Linked DNA regions of Homo sapiens: region 2 is linked to region 1. Evidence: promoter capture Hi-C in 16 types of primary human blood cells and fetal thymus (Javierre and others, 2016). All regions are on one chromosome and are shown on one strand. The core of a region is centred on a gene start or on the middle of the fragment in contact, and the rest is flanking DNA. Distances in the headings are between cores, read along the strand shown. Region 1 holds the start of AEBP1 (AE binding protein 1). Region 2 overlaps GCK (glucokinase).

Evidence for each region. The method cuts DNA at HindIII sites, captures the fragments that hold promoters and counts their contacts. A CHiCAGO score of 5 or more calls a contact.
Region 2: a contact is called between a fragment that was not itself captured here and the fragment with the promoter of AEBP1 in region 1, in 2 of 17 cell types (M1 macrophages and endothelial precursors). The highest score is 6.2, in M1 macrophages.

Annotation. Positions count from the first base shown.
Region 1 is chr7:44,102,575-44,106,827 of GRCh38, reverse strand. AEBP1 (AE binding protein 1) reads right to left here and starts at 2,483. Exons shown (of 21, transcript NM_001129.5): 1 at 1,910-2,483; 2 at 1-282. The coding sequence starts at 2,162. The HindIII fragment of the contact is 6,426 bases long and covers 750-4,253 here.
Region 2 is chr7:44,158,593-44,162,845 of GRCh38, reverse strand. The region is part of intron 1 of GCK (glucokinase); the gene reads left to right. Among named protein-coding and RNA genes, the nearest start is that of MYL7, 19 kb to the right of the region's middle. The HindIII fragment of the contact is 6,327 bases long and covers 1-4,253 here.

The DNA of each region.
Region 1 (4,253 bases), core at 1,234-3,733:
GGGTTTCTGAGGGAGCCAGAATGGGGGGCCTCTTCCCTGACGGGGGCTTCTTGGTGGCCTTGGGTGGCTTCTCTTTGGGCTTCTTGGTGGCCTTGGGTGGCTTCTCCTTGGGCTTCTTGGTGGCCTTAGGTGGCTTCTCCTTGGGCTTCTTGGTGGCCTTGGGTGGCTTCTCCTTCCCCTTCTTGGGCGGCCTGGGGGACCCCTCCAAGGACTCCTTGGGCACCTTGGGGCCTTTGTCTTTCTTGCCTTTCTTCCCTTTGTCTTTGGTCTTTTCCGGAGGCACTGTCCAAGATGCAGACTCGTGTCAAATGAACAGAGCCAGCTCTGTGCCCCCATGAGGCCCCTCTCTAGATGCCCAGAACCTGGGCACAGGGACTCTTGTCAGTTCCCAGTGCGGATCAGCAAACTGAGAGGTTAAGTCATTTGCCCAAGTGGCAAACTGGGATCCGGACCCAGATTTTCTGTCTGCAAGTCTGGGGCTGTGACCACCAATCTCAACCTCTCTAAAGACTGAGCGTAGGGTTCCCAGTTCCCAGGGGGAGGCCCTCATCCCCCCACCTGCCAAAACCTCAATAGGGGTTCCTTACTATCCACTCCTCCACTATTCTGTTCTGGGCACAGAAGGGGCAGAGAGGTGACTGAGCCATCCAGGCCTGGAGGAGCATCTGGTCATCCCTGCCAACTGCCATACAAAGGAAGGGACATGGGCCCAAGACCTTCCCCTGGTCTCCTACGGGGCAAGAAAAGCTTCAAAGAAAAGGGACACTTGGTTGAGTATTGAAGCCCAAAGAAGAGGAAGTGGTCTCCTTTCGAGAAGTAAGGGGTTTGGAATTGATTGGAAGGATAGGGAGTCCTGGGGGGTTCAGGGATCACACAGAGGACAGAAAAGACAGGTAGGGAGCTTGTGGCTGCACACTCATTTCAGAGTCTGGGAGAGGGAGCAGGGACTGGTTGTGAGGATTCCCCATGGGAATCCTCCCAGGACCCTAAGCAGGAGCTGCAAGTGCTGTTGAGAACCTGATGAGAGGTGGGGAGCATGAGGGAAGTTTGGCAGAAACACAGGAAAGCTACCAAATGCAGACAGCCAGGGGACGCAGGGCTGCTAGAGCGGTGCCCCAGAGCCAGGAGAGCAAGCCTGGAAGGAGAGCCAGAGGCAGGAGGGGCACAGGCAGCCCAGGGTGTGGGAAGCAGCCAGGAAAGATCTAGAGCTGGGGTGGCAGGGGAGGGGCTGCTGACATCAGGAATGTTGGATGGTGCCTTGGAATCTCCTGGGAGACAGGGATCACAAGACCCTCTGCCACCTTCCAGAGGGCCACGATGAAAACAGCTAAGATTTACTGACAACTGATTATGCAAGAGGCCGTGGGTTAAATGCTTCAGTGATGCATCACCTCATCTAATTTCCTGTACTAATGTAGGACCACCCATTGCTCACCACCACCTGAAGCCCTGTGCTCACCACCACCTGAAACTCTCTCACCTACGTGAGACCTCCTGGAGTAGGAGGGCAAAGGCAGGAGGGAGGGACGACGTGAAGCTGTGCCACCAACAGGGAGAGTGGTCCCATTAGTATGGCAGGGGGTGACACAGCACAGTCCCCTGTGGCTCAAGCCTAGTACCTGTCGCGTACTGGAGGAATGGGGATAAGCGACCCGTACAACCACAGCACCAACCCTAGAGCCACCGGCCCCCAAAAGCGGCCCTGCCGCCCGGGTGCTGGATGTGCCTCCACGCCAGCGCTGACCTCGGCCTAGCACAGGGTCCCTCCAGGCATCTGGGCTCGCGTGCGCATTAGTAAGCCAGCCATTCCTCCCCTAGCAGACTGGGGAGTGGCCAGACCCTACCGAATCCCCCTGTTCCCACCTGAGATGCCAGCCCCCCACACCCCCGCCCTGCCCTGGGCTCTTACCTTCTGCGGCCGTCCCTGGCCGCTTCCCTGGCTTGCCCCCCGCCTGGGCTTTTCGGACCCGCGGGGTGGGCTCGGGAGGCGGCGGGGCCTCCACGTCGTCCTCCCGGGGCTCAGGTTCTAGCTCTGACAGGAAGCCCTCGAGGAACTCCTCGATCTCGTCGTCGGTCAGCACCGTCTGCGGGCGCCCTCCAGGGCACAGGGCCAGCAACGCCAGGAGGCAGCTGAGCAGGGGCGCCCCGCGCACGGCCGCCATGGCCGCGGCACGCGCGGGGGGCTCCGGGGAGGGCGCGGGGGGTCAGGGGCTCTGGGTCTCTGGGAAAGGGCGGAGAGGGGATCGAGACGGGTGAGGGAATCCAGGAAGGGGCGGGAGAGAGGATGGGGTGAGCGAGGGAATCCGGGAAAGGGAGGGAGAGTGGATTAGGGTGGGCGAGGGGACCCGGGAAGGGGTGCTGGGGGGCTCCGAAGCCAGAGGGGCTCAGGGGTGGTCGGGGCGCTCCGAGGTCCTGGCGGCTAATAGGCGCTCCGGCCCCGCGTGGCGCACTCCCGCGCGGATAGCCGTCTCCAAAGCGCTGGCGGGGCCCGGGGCGGGGGCGCCGGGGCTTCCGGAGCCGGCTCCCCACCCCCGGGGAGGAGGAGGAGGAAGAGAAGGAGGAGCCGAGAGTGGACGGAGGGGCTGCGGGGGGGCGGGGGGCGGGGGGCGGGGGGCTAGGGGCGGGGCAGGCGGGCGGGCGCTGGCGGCGAGCGTCCCAAGCCCGGAGACTTGCGCCTAGGACAGAGGGGCAGGGGGCGGGGCGACTGGGAAGACAGAGGGCCTGAGGGAAGGAAAGGTGGTGGGGAGGGCCTGGGGTGCGGGTCTGAGGGGGCCGACATCCCTCCTCCTTCTGCCCTAGGCACCCCCCTTAAGGCGGGACCCCGAGTCCACCGGGGCTCTGAGCCCTCCGCGGGTGACCAGGAACCCTGGACGGAAAGCCGTGGTGTCAGGCCTCTGAGACCTCTCTCAATTCGGAGGGCCACAGAAAGGCCACCCCATCCTTCCCAGGCTCTGGAGCCTCTGCCCATGGGCCCTGCTGCATCCCAGCGTCAATTCATTCAGTCATCCTACCAACCTCTTCAGGTCGGTGTGGGGCCGGGCCCCGTGCTGGGCCCCAGGGAGGGACAGCACAGTGGGAACTCACTTTCCAGCCAGGAGGCAGGTGCAAAACTGCCCTCAGAGTGGCCAGCTGCCCCGCTGGGGGTAGGAGTCCCATGTAAGGGCATGCCATCCCTCCCCTCCGGGTCCCAACGTGGACAAATAGCCATTTATCACCTTCTTCTTACCAGAACTCATTTTTTAAAAAGTGTCTACCATACCTCCAGCTGCCACATGGACCCAGAGGGCCCAGAGGACCCAGAAGGCAGGTGGATTGAGTGTCAACTGATCCCAGGATCCATCAGGGATGTGCACCTTGGTGCCTGGTGTTTGCCATAAGGCTTCTCCAGGGCAAATGTTGGCTGCCCTACAACGGCCATCAACAGGCAGAGTGGTCCCATTAGTATGGCAGGGCGTGACACAGCACAGTCCCCCGTGACTCAAGCCTAGTCCCTGTCTCATACTGGAGGAATGGGGAGCTAAGGACAGAGCTCCGAGGACATTCCCCCTTAAAGGAATGAGGACACAAGAGAAAGCTCACAGGTAGTCCATGGGCCAAGTGCAGAGGCAGACAGCCCTAAGCCACGATTGTCTGCGGGGTTTGGCCCCAGTGAAGTAGTCAGGTAGGGAAGCCTAGGAGCCCCTGGGATGATTGACAGGGCAGAGTTTGGACCTGGGGTCAAAAGGAAAGAGGAAAAGTGGGTCAGGAAGCACCTGGGTCCCCAGAGCAGCCCCGAGTGAGTTGGAGCAGGCAGCAGCCGGGGAGGCCACAGTGGAGGCTGCTGGGCCTGGGATACATGCCACCCCCTGGGAGCAGGACCACAAGGAGGCCTTGCCTCCTCTCACACCTGGTCCTGCCAAGACCCTGCCTTTGCTTTCTCACTGCATCTCCTTGAAAAAGCAGTGGGACTGTGTCAGGTTCTGGCTCTACCTCCCAGGCACCACATCTCGGCAGGTAGCCTCAGTGCCGTCCACCTGTGTCCCTGTTCTCCTTGTCGTTCATACAGGATCATGCATGTGCTGTGCCTAGCACACATTCTTGGCACTCACACTGCTGCCTTTTAGCTCTCATCATTTGCCCTCAGAGATCAACCTGAGCTGTGCCCACTGGGGCGCTCAGAGCAGACCCTGAGCCCCAACACCCAGGCTCCCTGTGCACCTGAGCCTGCCTCTGCCTGCCACGTGCCCCCAGGCCAGTCCTGGTGGCAGCAAGGA
Region 2 (4,253 bases), core at 1,240-3,739, 56 kb before region 1:
GCCCCAAAGGATATTTCCTGTCCCCCAGCATATGCTTGACCCTGAAGCCCTCCCCATCTAGTCAAGAAGACCAAACTGTTAACAATCCTGGAGTCAGAGTGACCCATGGGTGAATCTTAGCCAAGTCACTCATAGCTGTTGCATCCTAGTAAATCCCTTAACTCCCATAGGCTTCAGTTTCCCTGCATATAAAATGACAGCCTTCAGCTCATCGGCCAGTTTCAATCCATCTAAAGGGTCTAGCACATCCCCTGGCATGTGGAAGCCACAGGGCACACACTAGTTGTGGTCATTTGATCCTGGCATGCTCTGCTGTCTCTCGGCTCTCCCCTTGCCTCTTTCCCTGATGTCCTGGCCATCAGCCACTGCCTAACACCCTCCCACTCACCAGGCCCTTAGCCTGCCCCTTAGCACAAGAGCACAGCCGGTCTCAAGTCTACCCTGCTGTAAGCAAACACTTGCAACATCATGCTGACCTCCAGGCCCTGTTGCATCAGCGTGCCCACACTTGGTGCCCAGCTGGTACTGAGGGTATCAGGGAACAGGCCAGTGGTGGAAGGGCGGACACTTTGGGTTCCCTGGTTTCCTGGCTCCCAATATCTTTCCCAATGGCATATGGGGTCTAGCAGCTTGGCTCATTTAACTGTGAACCTCTACCCTTTAGAATCTGGGCCTCCAGGCTTGCTTCTGTGCAAAATGGCAGATAAGGCTCAACCTTTCTTTTTTTAACTTCATTGTTAAATATTACTCCATTAATACCCATTTACTGCAGAAAAGGTAGGAAATACAGATAAGCAAAAAGGAAAATAAATTAAAATCCTCATACCACCATCATCAAGATAATTACTGTCACCATTTTGGTATATTTCCTCCCAATACATATATTATCTATATCGTATATACGACAAAAATGGATCATACTATGTTTCCTGTTCTTCCCCTGTGTTAGTCATCTATTGCTGTATAACAAACTGCCTCAAAACTTAGTGGCTTCACCTTTCCGTGTATTATGATGACAAGAATGTGGTATGACACTGTCTTATATCTGGATCATATGCTAAAAGATAGAAAATGGTTTCTAAACTTATTTGTTCTGTAATAACAAAATTTTATTTCATAAAGTGTTTTTAAAAAAAACCATAGTAGCTTGAAACAACAAACCTTTGTTATCTCACACAGTTTCTGTAGGTCAAGAATTCAGAAGCAGCTTAGCTGGGTGGTCTGGCTTGGTGTCTCTCCTGAGGTCAGGGTTTTGGCTGGGGCTGCATCACCTGAAGGCTTGACTGGGGCCAGAGGAGCTGCTTCCAAAGTGGTCCACTCACATGGCTGGCAAGTTGGAGTTGCGTATTGGCAAGAGACTTCGCTTCTTCTCAATGGATCTTCCCAGAGTTCTTGTAGGCAACCTCATAGCATAGCAGTTGGCTTCCCCCAGAGGGAACAGTCCAGGAGAGAACAAGGCAGAAACCACAGGGTCTTTTCTGGCTTAGGCTCCAAAGTCATACTCCACCATTTCTGCATTATCATATTAGTTACACAGGCTAGACCTATTCTGCATGGAAGAGACTATACCATGGGGTGAATACCAGAAGCAGGGCTAATTGAAGGCCAGCTTCAAGGGCGGCTACACATTCCCTTTCAACAGTATGTCATGAACATCTTTCCATGCCAATAGAGCAGATGAATCTTACCATTTTTAATGACTACATGTAAGTGTAGCATAATTTATTTAACCAACCTCCTGTAGTTGGGTATGTGGGTTGTGTCTCGTTTTTTGATAGTAGAATTAATCATCTTGAATATCCATCACCAAACTTGTCATATTATTTTCTTTTGATGAATGAAAAAGAAAATCAAGTCATGTCTGTCAATCAGAACCCTGAGCAACTAAGAAATGGGGGTACCACTGGGACATAGAGCAAGGTCCCTTCTGATTCTGCTCTTGTCTTTCTCTCCCCATGAAATGGGGAGTTCACTATCTACTGAGACATCCTAGCCCACAGCTGCACAGTTCTGTCTTTTTAGAAAGCTCTAAGCAGAAACAATGTTCATCCATCCTCCTCGGGACAGCCCTTGAGCTACTGAAGACTCTAAGCATGTCCTGGTCATCCTCCATGAGCCATCATCTCTGAGGCCCTCCCCTTCTTGGCCCCTCTTCTCTGGACAGGTTCTGGACAGTCTTGCCCTTCCAAAATTCCTGGAAAGCAGGAACTGTTCCTGCTACAATGACTCTCAACTCCAGTGCAGTACAGACTGTTGGTGTCACCCCTTATCCTGAAGAAGAGGCACTGAGACAGGACAAGGGTGGGTGCCCAGGAGGGCTGGCATGAGTCATGAGAATCTGGTCCCGGAGAATTAGACGGTGTGGGGAAGTAGGGGTGTTGGGCCGCTTTCTGGCCTCATGGATGCCAATGAATATCAGCAGGTGGCTCCCAGAAAGGAACTCTAGGGGATGCCTGTTGCTCTAAATAGAGGCTAGAGAGGGCACTGGCAGTTCAGTCAACCAAGAAAGGGGGCCCACTTGCCTCAGCTTCAGGCTTTGTACACATCCTCAGCCTTTCTTGAGAACTGAATTTAGATTCTCCTCCCCTGTGCTGTGTGCTTGGCCCAGAAGAAGGGCAAGTCTCGCTGGGTGGCTGCTTCTTGGCCTGGCTGAACCAGAAGGCCCCAGTGCCACTCCAAACCTGGGTGTGAGCCCTGCCCCCATGAGCAAACAGTAGCTCAGAGCTGGGGGCTGTGGGGGTCAGTGGCCTGTCACATGAGATCTGATGAGGCCATCTCTGCTCTATATTGGGAAAGGGATCAATTGTATCAAGGGCTTTCTTGGGAGTGATCACTCTGGCCATTGGCGAGAGACCTGGCATTCTGACAAGGCACCCTCCATACCCTGACCCACTTGCCAGCTCCAGCTAATTTTAGCAGGCTTTGGCAGGTGCCAGCAAGTACATAGCATGTGGATGTCACTCCCAGGTGAGCCCAAGGAGAGGCCTGGGCCAGAGCCTGGAAGTCATGGTCTATGCCCATGGAGGCACCCAAAGCAAGCCTGAGGCCTGGACTTTGCAGTCACAAAATTAAGAATGATACCCCTGTTTTTTGTTTGTTTTTGATCAGTTGGCCACCTTCCTCCACCACCCCTTCCCCAAGTTCCATACAGACCCCTGGATTGTATGAAATGCAAATCGAACCTCTCTGCAGATGAAAATCCACTGGGGATCCCCTTGCCTCCAAGAGCAAGTCCAGACCTGCACCAGCGCGGGCCAGGCCCCCTTAGGACCCCCTCCCTGTCCAAGGGCATTTCAGTAAGTGTTCTGTGGCCAAGGCAGCCTGGTGACTTTCTGCCCGCACAAGGCTGAGGAATGGAAGATGGGTAGGCTGGCTCTGCACACCCCCTCCTGCTGGGCAGCAATCCCTACCCCATGTTCACAGAGTGTGGCCGGCTGCCCCATGGCTCTGTCCCCGTGGCCCTGTCAACTGTTACCCACATGGCCTACCCTCCCTTTCTGCCCTGCCTCTGACCCCATGGCAGGGGGCAGAGTATTTGAGCAGCCGCCAGGCTGAGCCCTTTCAGTGCAGAAGCCCTGGGCTGCCAGCCTCAGGCAGCTCTCCATCCAAGCAGCCGTTGCTGCCACAGGCGGGCCTTACGCTCCAAGGCTACAGCATGTGCTAGGCCTCAGCAGGCAGGAGCATCTCTGCCTCCCAAAGCATCTACCTCTTAGCCCCTCGGAGAGATGGCGATGGATGTCACAAGGAGCCAGGCCCAGACAGCCTTGACTCTGGTAAGGGTCACACCAAAGTTAGGGACTTTGCACTGGGAGAGCAGCACCCAGGGCAGGGCCCTTGGTTTTGCAGATTACCAAAACTAAGGCTGGGGGCAGGGAAGGCGAGCAGGCTTGGGGCACCTTGGAAGGAGGCACATGGGCCTTGGGGGTCCTGGCTAGGGCAGCTGTGCCTGCCACTGGCCCTCTGCCCACCACCCCTCCTCACTGTGGCTATCCAGTGTCCAGCCTCTCGAGGGGTTCTAGGGTACTTATTCCTGGAGCTAACGGTGACCCAGGACACCAGTGTCCGGGGCCTGGCCTGGGGCTTTTATGGGGGGAGCTGGCTGGCTGCCCAGGGCTGTCTGGCTCTCTGGGGGCTCTGCATGGCATTTCCAGGGGTTGGTGGATCAGGGATTCTGTCCCTCAGGAGAATGTGGGCACTAGCCCAAGGCCACTCACTTCTGTGTACATAGCCACCTGAGGGCCCAGGAATGGAGG